Regions from separate parts of the Homo sapiens genome. Here region 1 is linked to region 2. The links are contacts of gene promoters, found by promoter capture Hi-C in blood cells and fetal thymus (Javierre and others, 2016). All regions are on one chromosome and are shown on one strand. The core of a region is centred on a gene start or on the middle of the fragment in contact, and the rest is flanking DNA. Distances in the headings are between cores, read along the strand shown.

What was found. The method cuts DNA at HindIII sites, captures the fragments that hold promoters and counts their contacts. A CHiCAGO score of 5 or more calls a contact.
Region 1: a contact is called between the fragment with the promoter of MANSC1 here and the fragment with the promoter of PRH1-TAS2R14 in region 2, in 3 of 17 cell types (non-activated CD4 T cells, total CD4 T cells and monocytes). The highest score is 6.8, in non-activated CD4 T cells.

Annotation. Positions count from the first base shown.
Region 1 is chr12:12,348,777-12,355,585 of GRCh38, reverse strand. It overlaps MANSC1 (MANSC domain containing 1), which reads left to right and starts at 5,344. Exons shown (of 4, transcript NM_018050.4): 1 at 5,344-5,508. LOH12CR2 (loss of heterozygosity on chromosome 12, region 2) reads left to right here. Exons shown (of 2, transcript NR_024061.1): 2 at 1-178. RefSeq lists a cis regulatory region at 1,343-1,778 and a silencer at 5,034-5,343. The HindIII fragment of the contact is 5,175 bases long and covers 1,064-6,238 here.
Region 2 is chr12:11,167,737-11,174,522 of GRCh38, reverse strand. It overlaps PRH1-TAS2R14 (PRH1-TAS2R14 readthrough), which reads left to right and starts at 2,912. Exons shown (of 5, transcript NM_001316893.2): 1 at 2,912-3,101. SMIM10L1 (small integral membrane protein 10 like 1) reads right to left here and starts at 3,329. Exons shown (of 1, transcript NM_001271592.2): 1 at 1-3,329. The coding sequence starts at 3,166. The coding sequence ends at 2,960. It overlaps PRH1-PRR4 (PRH1-PRR4 readthrough), which reads left to right and starts at 2,898. Exons shown (of 10, transcript NR_037918.2): 1 at 2,898-3,101. It also overlaps a transcript of PRH1 not described here. The HindIII fragment of the contact is 883 bases long and covers 2,409-3,291 here.

The DNA.
Region 1 (6,809 bases), core at 4,095-6,594, 1.2 Mb before region 2:
TCTTTGAGGGGAAGGTGAGAGAGGAGGTAAAAGGGGTGAGGAATGGAGAATAACTCATTCTGGTTCTTGTTTCCCCTTTTCCACATAAAAGTATATTTGTCTTGTGTTCCATACACCAGTCCATACTGATGTGATGGTGTTTTTTATGCTTCCTTTTGAATAAACATTTCATTCTTAAAAGGATAGTCTGTCGCATCAACTGATGAATGGATAAATAAAGTGTGGTAATCATGGAATATTTATTCAGCCAAAATGAGGGAAGGATGAAATCATACTGATACATGCTACAACATAGAGTAACCTTGACAACATTATTCAATATGAAAAAGGCCTGTCAGGCCGGGTGCGGTGGCTCACGCCTGTAATCCCAGCACTTTGGGAGGCCGAGGCGGGCGGATCACGGGGTCAGGAGATTGAGACCATCCTGGCTGACAAACTGAAATCCTGTCTCTACTAAAAATACAAAAAAAATTAGCCGGGCGTGGTGGCGGGCGCCTGTATTTCCAGCTACTCAGGAGGCTGAGGCAGGAGAATCGCTTGAACCCAGAAGGCGGAGCTTGCAGTGAGCAGAGATCGCACCACTGCACTCCAGCCTGGGCGACAGAGCGAAGACTCCGTCTCAAAAAAAAAAAAAACAAAGCGTATCACAAAAGACCACATATTGTAGATTTCATTTATATGAAATGTCCAGGAGAAGCACTACAGAGAGAGAAATATGTTAGTGTTGCCTAAGGCCGAGGAGGGGTACGGGTGGAAGGGAAATGTAGACTATTATTGGGTATGGGGTTTCTTTCTGGGGTTGATGAAAATGTTCTAAAATTGTAATGATGAATGCACAACTCTGAATATATTAAAAACCACTGTAGAGTACACTTTACCAGGGTAAATTGTATGGTATACAAATTCCATATCCATAAAGCTATATTCAGTAAAAGAACATATGAAGATAAAATTCCTTCCTTCACTGGCTTAACATTTCTTGGGAACCTGAAATGTTCTAGGCACTTGCTACACGTTAAAAATAAAAAATTCAACAAGGCCCAATCCCTGTACTTAGGAAGCTTACAGTCTGGTGGCAAGAAAATTAAATGAGCATTTATATAACATAAGGAGTCTGCTGGAAGAGCTTTATAGCTAGGAAACATTTCAGATTGATGTCTTTTAGCACCTTTAAAATCCCTTCTACATGAGCAGCAAACTGTGTTATTGTATATGTAATAACTAGCAATTGAACAGCCTTTTTGAGTTTACAGGTCTGCAGGTCTATATGTTAGACCTGCATAAAAAGGTCTATATTATGACCTGCGTGTAAAGTAGATACCACTTTCCTAATTTTACAGAAAAGTTAAGTGATTTATTCTTGGTCACACAACTAGTGAGTGATAAAACCAGGATTCACGTTTTCAAAACTCATCATGCCTCTGTCCACTCCAGACTGACTCCTCTTCCCGTGTCTTTATATGACCTGGTACTCCCACCCAACCAGGCTCCCAAGCCAGAAGCCTGCTTACTGTCAGCACTGCATCCAACCAATCGTTGTGTCCTGGAGAGCCTCTCCTCTTAATTTCTCCTCTATCTGCATGCCCATTTCAGGGCCTTATCACTTCCGTTTCTTGGAAGAGAGGCCTCTGGCCTCACGTCCCTCAATCCATCCCTCCTGTGGCAGGTAGAGATAATTTTCTAGAATATTAATTAGGTCTCTGGACCTGTCACTGCCCTACAAAAAGCCTTCAGGAACTCCCCATGCCTTTAGGATAAAGTTTAAGATTTAACATATGAAAACCTTCCTGCTCTGACCCCAGCCTCTCTCTCTATTCTTCTGTGTACACTGGTAACCTTCCTAACAGGCTGAATTTCCTGTGGTCATGCAGTTTCCTATTCCTGAAATATTCAGCCTTTTCCTCCTCATCTGCTAATAACTTCATTCTTCAATAATTAACACCTCTTCCCAGAAATTGGGATCAGATGTCCCTTCTCTGAGCCTTTTTAGTTGCCATCTTCTATCATAACATTTATTCTTTTCTTGGGGAGGGCAGGGACAGGGTCTCACTCTGTTGCCCAGGCTGGAGTGCAGTGATGCTATCATGGCTCACTACAGCCTCCTAAGAGCCTCCTAGGCTCTTAGGAGATCCTCCTGTCTCAGCCTCCCAAGTAGCTGAAACTACAGACGTGTACCACCACACCATGCTAATTTTTATTTTTTGTAGAGATGGAGTCTTGCTATGCTGCTCAGGCTGGCCTCAAACTCCTGGGCTTAAGTGATCCTCCTGCCTTGGCTTCCCAAAGCACTGGAATTACAGGCATGAGCCACTACACCTGGCCTTCATCACACTTAACTGTTTACACAGCCATTGATTTACTTTTTCTCCTTCTGAACTATGAACATCTTAAAGGTAGATCTCATTGGTATTACTGGTCTTTAGTTTCCCCTGCAGGTGCTTAATACATGTTTTTTTTTTTGTTTGTTTGTTTGTTTGTTTGTTTGTTTTTTGAGACAGAGTCTCACTCTTTCACCCAGGCTGGAGTGCAGTGGCTCGATCTCGGCTCACTACAAGCTCCACCTCCTGGGTTCACACCATTCTTCTGCCTCAGCCTCCCCAATAGCTGGGACTACAGGCGCGCGCCACCATACCCAGCTAATTTTTTGTATTTTTATTAGAGACAGGGTTTCACCATGTTAGCCAGGATGGTCTCGATCTCCTGACCTCGTGATCCACCCGCCTCGGCCTCCCAAAGTGCTGGGATTACAGGCGTGAGCCACTGCGCCTGGCTGCTTAATACATGTTTTCCGATTACTTTTAAAGAAATCTTTCTCCACATAGATGGGACTTCTAACCCTCAGAGAAGAGTGTCAAGAATCTCTTCAGGAAATGAAGTGACAATGGATATAATTTCTAAGTTATGACTCAGGCCAGAAATTAAAGTTTTTATTTTATTTTTAAGTAAGCCAAGTGCAGTGGCTCACACCTGTAATCCCAGCACTTTGGGAGGCCAAAGCAGGAGGATTGCTTGAGCCCAGGAGTTTGAGACTAGCCTGGGCAATGTAGCAAGACCTCATCTATACAAATAATTTAAAACACCGGGTACGGTGGGTCACGCCTATAATCCCAGCACTTTGGGAGGCCAAGGTGGGCAGATCACTTGATGTCAGGAGTTCAAGACCAGCCTGACCAACATGGTGAAACCCCGACTCTACTAAAAATACAAAAATTAGCTGGGCATGGTGGCATGAGCCTGTAATCTCAGCTACTCAGGAGACTGAAGCAGGAGAATTGCTTGAACCTGGGAGGCAGAAGTTGCAGTGAGCTGAGATCGTGCCACTGCACTCCAGCCTGGGCAACAGAGCGAGACTCCATCTCAAAATTAAAAAAAAAAAAAAAATTAAGAACATTAGCTGGGTGTGGTGTGCGTTTGTGGTCCCAGCTACTCAAGAGACTGAGGCAAAAGAATCACTTGAGCCCAGGTGGTCAAAGCTGCAGTGAGTCGTGATTGTGCCATTGCACTCCAGTGTGGGCAACAGAGCGAGACCCTGTCTAAAAAAATGAATAAATAAACAATGATATTTATAAATTAAACATATATAATAGAAAATATTTCTTTAATCATTATTTTAATCAATATCCTTTGTTCACTGTCATAACTGAAAAAATAACATATCACTTCAATGAAAACAGGTTCAGGCCGGGCACAGTGGCTCACGCCTGTAATCCTAGCACTTTGGGACGCCGAGGCGGGCGGATTGCCTGAGCTCAGGAGTTCGAGACCAGCCTGGGCAACACGGTGAAACCCCATCTCTACTAAAATAGAAAAAAATTAGCTGGGCGTGGCGGCATGTGCCTGTAGTCCCAGCTACTCAGGAGTCTGAGGCAAAAGAATTGCTATAACCCGGGAGGTGGAGGTTGCAGTGAGCCGAGATCACACCACTGCACTCCAGCCTGGGCAACACAGCGAGACTCCGTCTCTAAAAACAAACAAAACACAAAACAAAACAAAAAAAGAAACAGGTTCATTGTATTAAAGCACCGAATACGAAGTTTCTAATAATGGAAAGGTCTACTTTGTAACTAGCATGGATTACCCCATGTAGAGAGATTCAAAAACTGTGATAGCTCTACACCCTGAACCCTGAAGTGTATCAGATGATAAAAGATAAAACACACTTGCAGATCAGTCCCTTGTTGCATCAGGAAAATCACTGCAATGGGAAATTACTCTGGTGTTTACTTTTCTTTGGTAACTCTTTCAAACCTAGCTTTAGCAACATTGTAATTCAAGAGTCATCCTTTGGTTACAAGTAGAGTTAGTTTCACACAATGGACCTTTGTTCACAAGCATTCTCAGTCAACCTAATCCTCCTGTAGTTATTGGTTAAGACTAGGGTGTGTAGCTGTTGGCCGTACAGGCCTAGACTTAACTTGCAATTGCATAGCGCTTCAGGTCTGCAAGCTCTTTCAAAACAGAGGTGAAGATACTGTCAAAGGTTAGACCATATGGCAAACTAAGTGTCAATGGTTTAGTAACGTTGCATTTGTGTGTGTGTTTATGGAGGTGGGGATGGGGCCAGCAGTAATTTAGAAACTTCCACAACCTATGCCCTATGCAGTTCTTTTCCATTCATTCAGTCAACAAAAATATTTTAGTTAAATATTTACTGAGCACCTATTGTGTACCAGGCACTATGCTAAGTGTTAGGGATACAGTTTTAATATATGTTACAGACACCAGCATTTTCACCATTATTATCCTATCTACAAACAATAAATCCCGCAGAAAGCCAAATACCTTCCCTGAAGTTTGTCTTGCAGATAATATTTAACTCAAGAATTGCCATCTTTAATTGAGGACTCCATCCTCCAATTATGGAAAGAGGATTCTCAGAACTATGCCCCCAATAGGATGCACTATAAGCCCTTGAACATCAAAAAACTGCTCTCAGTGGTTGCCTCTGAGGAGGGAGACTAGGAGACTGGGGCACGGGGGTGAGGGGTAGACTTGTCTCTGTGTCTATTTTTGTACTGTTTGACATTTTCCCCATGTGCATTTATTTTAACTTGCGCGGGCCGCGAGGCAAGGCTCACCTGCAGACCCTCGGGCCACCAGCAGGGAGGCACGCACTCCCCCTCGCAGCGCGCCCAGCCCGGGGTCAGCGGTGTGGCTGAGCTGGGGGGGAGCGCGGGGCGGTGGGGGGAGCCACCTCCCTGCGGGGCTCAGCGCTGGGGCCGGGAGCCCGGAGCCTCCGCGGGGAGGGACGCGCTAATGTTGCCGGGAAGCAGCTCCGGGTTGCAGGGCAGGAACGTGCCCTTCCCCCGCGGCAAACTTGCCGTCGCTGCGACGGAAGCAGGAACTTGCTAACCACAAAACCCGCCAGGCCGGTGCGGGAGCTGCGGAGCATCCGCTGCGGTCCTCGCCGAGACCCCCGCGCGGATTCGCCGGTCCTTCCCGCGGGCGCGACAGAGCTGTCCTCGCACCTGGATGGCAGCAGGGGCGCCGGGGTCCTCTCGACGCCAGGTAAAGGGGTCTCCCCAATACCCACCCCCGACCGGCCGCAGGCGACGTCGCTACCTGCGGAGAGAGTCGGTCCCCTCCTTTCCAGGGGCCGAGGCTCCTTCACCCACACCCGAGCATCCAAAGGACCAGCTGGGGCCAATAAGGGCTGACCAGGATCCTTGAGTCGCTGCAGTATTCCAAAGGGGACCTCTAGGCGGGCTCAAGGCACCTGCCATAAATGGCTCTGGCTCTGCGTTGACATCAGAAGGAGAGGCAGAAGAATAGCTCAGTAGGCAACATGCATTTCCTCAAAGGAAGAGAAAATGTTCCCTGTTTTCTTGTCGTTGACTCTGTATTCATTATTGAAACTGCTAATTGTCTAATTCTCTGTAGAGTGTGTGTGTGTATACAGTTATAAGCATCTTGGTAAATTATAGTGTGCTGTAAGACGATTTCCAATATTTGAACTAATTACGTGCGAGTAAGTTTTAGCGACTCTTGTATGCAGACGTTAAAACTCAGGGGCATCCTCTCTCACCCGCCTGTATCCTTTTACCCCGTCTTTCAACAAGATTCAACTCGACTTCAGGCCCTTAAAGCCTAAATAATAATGGATTAGAAAACGTCGCTAACCTAATATTGCTGAGCCTCTTTAATGATATAAAACTCTTAAACACTTCTCTCAATGCTGCATACTGAAAACAACTCCTGCCCCATCTCCTTACATAGTTCAGGTTTCTTTGCAAAAGCTTGAAAAGAGGCTACATTAGAATCCATTCAAAATAAAGTATTGGCCTGGTTTTCTCTTGATTCCCTAGAGGCTTGCAAAATATGGCAGCGTATTAAGTACCTTGGCCAGAATTATTAACCTGGGGAGTCCACGATAAGGTATCCATGGATAGAATTCAGGATGTCTGTGAACTTGAGTGGAAAAAATTATTATTTCACCGACTTCTGAAATGGAATGTAGGCAAAAGCCACAGTAGTATTAGCAGTAGCTATGATTTGCCCCCTGTAAATATTGCCGATATCTTTATATCACATGACTTGTTGCACGTTTCAAAATATTATCTATACTCAATACCACGTCAAAATTATGGCAGTTATTAGATGACCACTTGTTACTTAATAGGTTAATAAAGAAGCACATATTATGTCCCACAACTTTTTGTAAGTTTTAACTAAAATGAGGATAATAATGGGATCTGTAAAGATTAAATGACATGATATATATAAAGTGCTTAGCATAGAAACTGGCATTTTAGACGCAATAAATGTTACTATTTTACTGTATACAGAATTTTGACAAACAGCAAGAAAAG
Region 2 (6,786 bases), core at 1,663-4,162:
CATGCTTGAGGGATCTCTGGATCAATCAACGTGCATGATGGCCTGAAAAAGCCCAATTTATGGGCAATAAAGTGAATCATCTTATTATCAGGAACGAATATATGTTTCCTTTATTGACTGCTGACTATGTAGAGCATACCAACAAAATTGCCATTCATCTATCCATTCAACAATATTTATTAGCTATTCCGCACTGGGCAGTGCTCTAGGCTTGGGGATAGAACAGTGAACAAACAAAATCCTTAGCCTAATGGATATTACCTGGAAGTGTGCCAGGAAGAATAAACTCACTTGTGAATTACAACAATAAGTGGTTTATTCAGGTCAAAATCTTGTTTTGTCTCCTGGGAATTTCACTGAATTGCATCATGTAGGAGGCAAACTATACCCCAAGAATTAAGAGCAATTGTGAATAAATGATAAACCACAGAGTTTACATTTACCTCCTAATACATTTAACTCCTAATATATATATATACATATATTACGAGGTAAATGTAAGCTGTAACTTTATGCATATATTGTAAGTAGTAACTATACATATATACTTATATACTGTATACATATATAGTAAGTAGTAACTATACATATATACATATATAGTTACTACTTAAATTTATATATGTGTATGTATATATATATGTATATATACAGTACACACACATACTGTTACTACCGGGTGTAAAATTGAATAGGATATAGTGTCTTCCCTCACAGAGCTGCCAATTATGTTGGAGGATGTAATAAATACAAAGTCTGTTTCTTCATCTTCGGTTTAACAAATGACTGATGTGAGGAAAAAAGTTATAGGAATATGTTCACATAGTCACCCAAATGGAGCATCCTACTCTGTCACCATTTCAGGATTAAGACTAGACAGTCTTTTGTGTTACAAATTGGGACATCAGTGCTCTGGGAAACAGTGATGTCCACGATTCTAAATCCCTTGGTATTACTATTTCATTGATTAAACTACACTTCTGATATTTTAGACTAAAATGTTTTGGCTTATCGCAGTCTAGGAAACCTGTCTTGGGTATATAAAACAGACAGTTGATGCACGATTAGGGAAAAATAAGGCAACCTATGAAAATGGCCTTATGGATTAAAAGAAGTGAGCTCCTATATGGTCAGTGGAATCCAGGAAAAATTTAATGGAAAAAGCGCCACCTAAGCTTAGCTTTAAAACACAGAGTATCTTCAGGTAGAAAAGGCTATAGGAGAATGTGCCCAAATGGAGTTTGGCTGGAGACAAAGAATAAAGACTAGAAAGAACAATTACCCTAGGCCAGACATGGTGTTGGACGGGGCAAGATGCTTACTACTTAAAGCCATAGAACACTGTTTGCTGGACACAATGAGTGGAATATAGAACAATGCAACTATTTTAACACTTTACCCCTCTTAGTGGTTTATTAGTTAATTTTTTCCTGAAAAAAAAAATGCGTATACTACTTTTTCTGCACTTTTCTATATCAGATCTTGATTTAAAACTTTACCACTCTTGGTGATTTATTATTAGTTTTTTTAATCCGAAGAAAACATGTGTATACTCCTTTTTCTGCATTTTTCTATATCAGATCTTGATTGGCTCACCACCATTACACACACACACATCTCTTTTCTCCCATCCTCCCAGCGTTATAGAATCATTTGTTGTAAAATCAGTATTCAGTATTTACATAATTATGACTGACTTTACATGACTACTATTATTCACAGTTGAGGTATACCGTGTATACAGTGTAGTTTTTAAATTTTTATTTTTCTCAGCGTTCAAAATTATATGTTCTGTTTTCTTAATTTTGAAAAATATGCATTCACTAATTTATCCCCACACTCTTTGGAAAATGAAAGCTCTCTAGGCTGTATTCAAATACACCAGGTACTCTATCAATTTTCATTTTTTAAACTATTCTACCTGAGCTCTCCATCTTTAGCCATTTCCTGTTGACTTCATACTGTTCTCCCCTACCACTCTCCCTCTTTAATATATTACCGTTTTAGAAACTTTATGGCTACCCTGTAAGTAATAAAAATGTCTTTCCCCACTCAACAACAGACAGTACCTTTCAAGTTTCCACTTTATAAGGACATAACCCCCATTCCATTTACTTCCCCCGCCCTCCTTCAACATTCCCACTTGTATTTTCCGGCTGTATTTTTAAAACATGGTAAATAACATTTGCACTCCACTTTGTAACCATAATTAAGTATGCCCTTAAACAATAAAAACCATAAACAACATTTGTATTTTACGATTATTTAAATGTTATTCACTGAACAGCCAAGCTTTGTGCTACTATGGGATTTCGTTTTCTGCGGTTCCAAGTCTTGATCCACGTCCTGCCACAGGATCACTGAAGTAGAGCCCATTTTCTTACACTCTCGCCATTAGTTCAAAAGCTTGCAGCATTTTATGTCTGGTACTTGGAGGATGATTTTCCTGTACAGTTTTGCGTTTTTTTCACCGAAAATTTCTGATTATTATTGTTTTCTCTTGTGGGATGAAATATGTACCTTCTATATCACAGCCTTAATACCTTCAGCTTCTTATTCATTGAAATCTTGCTTACAATCCAGTCCGAGGATTCCCGGTTTACTGATTTTCTTTTTCCTGCAAATTTTAGCCTTCTGTTTTGTTTTGAAATAATGCATCCTCTGCGCTTTGTCACATTCTGAAATTCGTCAGGTGTTTTAGGATGCACACTTTCTTAGATGTTTTCGAGGGTCTTAACTGCAGTTCTGTTTCCGGAACAGCGTATTCTCTTTCTAGGGATTGTAGGCTCCCGGCCGCCCCCTGAGGAGCTCCGCTAGCAGCTAAGAGGGCAGCCACGAAGAGCGCCTGAGCACTCTCGCGAGACTGTGGGGCTCGCCATTGGCTGCTCCGCCGCGCCGCAACGGACCCTGGGAGTCGGCCATCATGCTGGCCCCGGAGGCCGTTAGCTTAGTCATGGCTCTAAATATGTACCTGCAATCGGATGTTGAGGATCACCGAGCCCGCGACGTAGAAGTACGGGAAGTTCATGCGCAGCTGCCAGGCCAGCTCGAAGAAGGCGAGCAGGGTGCGGGAGAGCCCCTTGCAGAAGACGCCGTACGAGGTGGGTGTCGCGGCGGGGCTTGAGGCCCTGACGGCCAAGGAGGACGGAGCCGCCGCGGGGGCCATGAGCCAGGTGTCGCCGCCCGCCCAGCGTCTGTAGCGAGGGTTGCCGCAGGGCCCGCGGACCTCCTAGCGACGGCTGGGACCGGCAGGACGGTAAGCAAAGCGGCTCCCGGGCTCACACCCAAGCTTGCCGCTGCCGCCGCTCGGTGCAGTGCGGCGCGTAGCCCCGGGCGCCGCTGGCGCTCCGCCCCTTCCTGTCTGCTTCTCACTGTGGCATTTACCATTTAGAGCTCAACTGATGGTAGGTGGCTCTGGAATAGGATGTGTTATATAGCATGTACGAACATCCATGCAGATAGTTCCACTTTAAAATGAAAAAATCTAAGCGAGATGTAACTTGCCGTAGGGCACAAAATTTGTAAGGGCCAAAGCTAGATTAAAACTTTAGTTTGTCTGCTGTGTTATGTGGGATGTTAGGAATCTTACCCTTTTGATTTCATAATATTAATATTAGGGCAAGATGATTCCTACGCCAATAAAAGCACAAGGTCTCTGTATTCATAATATACCATAGACATAAAAAGGATCACAATCTTAGTCTTTGGATTTTTCTATTTATTAGGAATATTTAAATTGCAAGTGACAGGAATGATAAACATTCAAGCAAAAAACTAGTGGACACACACGCGTATATACATAAGGACATACATACAAAATTATATTCCCAGCCATGTAAACCCTTAAAAAGTTCAGATTAGCTGTGGAAGCTTCAGCCATTTCTGCATGGAGATGCATCTGTGAAACCTGTGGCTAGGCTCCAAGAGCTGGAATACTACTCTGTACTTCCAAACTCTTTTTTTGTTGTTGTTTTTGAGACGGGAGTCTCGCTCTGTCGCCCAGGCTGGAGTGCAGTGGCGCGATCTCGGCTCACTGCAAGCTCCGCCTCCCGGGTTCACGCCATTCTCCTGCCTCAGCCTCCTGAGTAGCTGGGACTACAGGCGCCCGCCACCATGCCCGGCTAATTTTTTGTATTTTTTGGTAGAGATGGGGTTTCACCGTGTTAGCCAGGATGGTCTCGATCTCCTGACCTCGTGATCTGCCCGCCTCAGCCTCCCAAAGTGCTGGGATTACAGGCGTGAGCCACAGCGCCCGGCCTGTACTTCCAAACTCTTAATACCATTAGAGTAACAGCACAGTGAATCTCTAATAGCCACAATACTTTTGTTATTTAAATGGTGCACATTTCATTACCTTCACTTATCTCCCATTTTAACTAGAAAGCACTGTATTTTTTAATCGCACACACCGTCTTCATTCATGGATTATTCAAATGTGTGATTTCTGATCATGACCTTAAGGTTACAGTCTTGTTCTGAAAAGCATTGTTGAGATACCACACATCGCACCGTGCACTGCATGTCTAGCAGCTATTCAGAGCACAAGTACGGTACCCTAGAGTACCTCTGTTTCTATATAGTCTACTGATTATATGACTGGTAGAAATAACGTGCCACTGATAAATTTGTAAAAATTAATTTTGTGTTCCCAGCTAGTATTCTTTTGCTACTTTGCTGCTCCAGTACCACTCCAGCGAGGTAGCACTTAGAGGAATTACTTATGACAACTTCTAAAATACTGGTATAGAGACTGAAGAGCGATGTAAAATAAATGATCAATTCTGAGAACTGGGAGAAGATATATAGTTTCAGTTCACACATATAATTTACTCCCTTTGAAAACTGAAAGACTAATACACAGAGCCATTCAGAGTCACAGGAGTCATTACGTCCTGGATTTTTCATTTCCAAATATGTAAAGCTATGTGGACTCATTCTGTCTTCTATTCCTCTTTTGTGCCACCCTTTACGCCCTACTTGCTCCGTTTCTGGGTAACTCCATGAAAACCTTATCTTCCACCCTGAGACCGTGGGGAAAATAGCAGCCACCCACTGATAACATGGCCAGATTGAGGGCCTATTCCAATGGGACGGGAATAGGCAAAGAACAGTCACAAAGCTCCAAATCCTACTCCTTAATGCTCTAGAGCTGAAGAAAGATTTCCTTCTTTCCACCTGAGAGTGGGATAGGAGCAATAATTTAGGTGGTTGTAGTTTTTATCTGCCCCTTGATGTTTAGATTTGAATGCCTAATCCACACTTCTTTTGCTGAGGGTGATATTAGGAGAATTCATGATTAGAGTATTCATGATTGGAAATGGCTTGATTGTACAAATTAGAAAATTCATGATTGGAAATGGCTTGATTGTACAGATTAACTGCATTGACTGGCTTGGGCATTGGAAGCTTCCTTTAACTGACTTTTCATCAGGTTAGCCAGCTCCAGAATTTAACAGCTGTGTTTAATACTGCTTAATATTTTTATACTTATGTTCACACCACACCATTAACTTGTGCTAATGCCAAACTAGAAAAAAAGTACGTTTCCTTTTGGACACTGATCAGTACTCAACCCTTTGGTTTGCTATCTGCCTGATAATTTTTGGAGGTGGGGGTGGTTCACAATAGCTAATTTTTCTCAGCCATTTTTCCTTTGGATAAAGTGTAGAATTAATTATGTGAATATTATGATTCTGATGGAGTCCTTGGTTTATTAACATTCCATTGGGAAATAAATGATTTTGGAGTCGTAATCTTTCTTATTTTCTTTTTATCATGTACTGTTTTTCAGCTTTTATAGCAGATTTGATTCACTTTATGGTAAACAGCCTGCTGGGCATGATGCTTTTCCAGATAGTAGGAGCCTTCTGCCTTTCTGATCACTCTGATTCTGATTCTTGGGAAGAGCAAGCTGAGTCAGACCTCACTGATAATGCTGTGGAAGATTAGATTCTTGATATGATGGGAAACCTTGGCTCCTTGAAAGCCTTGACGAAAACTTTTTTGTATTAGGAAAAAATAAAATCAAGTAGAAGCCCACATAAAAACTCTTTAATTTTTCTTTTCTCTTTCTTTCTTTCTTTTTTCTTTTCTTTTCTTTTCCTTTCTTTCTTTCTTTCTTTCTTTCTTTCTTTCTTTCTTTCTTTCTTTCTTTTCTTTCTTTTCTTTCCTTTCTTTCCCTTCCTTCCTTCCTTCCTTCCTTCCTTCCTTCCTTCCTTCCTTCTTTCTTTCTTTCTTTCTTTCTTTCTTTCTTTCTTTCTTTCTTTCTTTCTTTCTTTCTTTCTTTCTTTCTTTCTTTCTTTCTTTCTTCTTTCTTTCTTTCGTTTTTTGCCATGGCTTTAATATGTACATATAGTTTGACATCATTGTAATTCTTACCAGAACATACTCAGAGCTAAATATATACTCTTATTTCCATATTTCAAGAAAGACTTTTCTTTTTCTCCCCTCAAACCTCTCTTTTAGACAATGAAACACATTTAATAATTGTCAGATTATTAAGATCTATTGTATTCTTCATTACAAGGCCAGATTTCATAGGTGCATAAAAAATCACCTATACATGAATCTATTTTTTAATTGAGACATTTTTTAAACCATGCATGTGGAAGAATATGATATAGCATGCATTTATGCATGCATTTTGAAAACCAGCTTGAGAATTTTACTTCCTTTTAGTTAGCAGTAGACCAAAAGAGAATGTTGCTTCTGCTCTAACAAAGAGAGTAAACTAGGTAGGCTACAAAGTCATAATTTATTTTGAGCTTGTTAGAACTGAAGTTACAA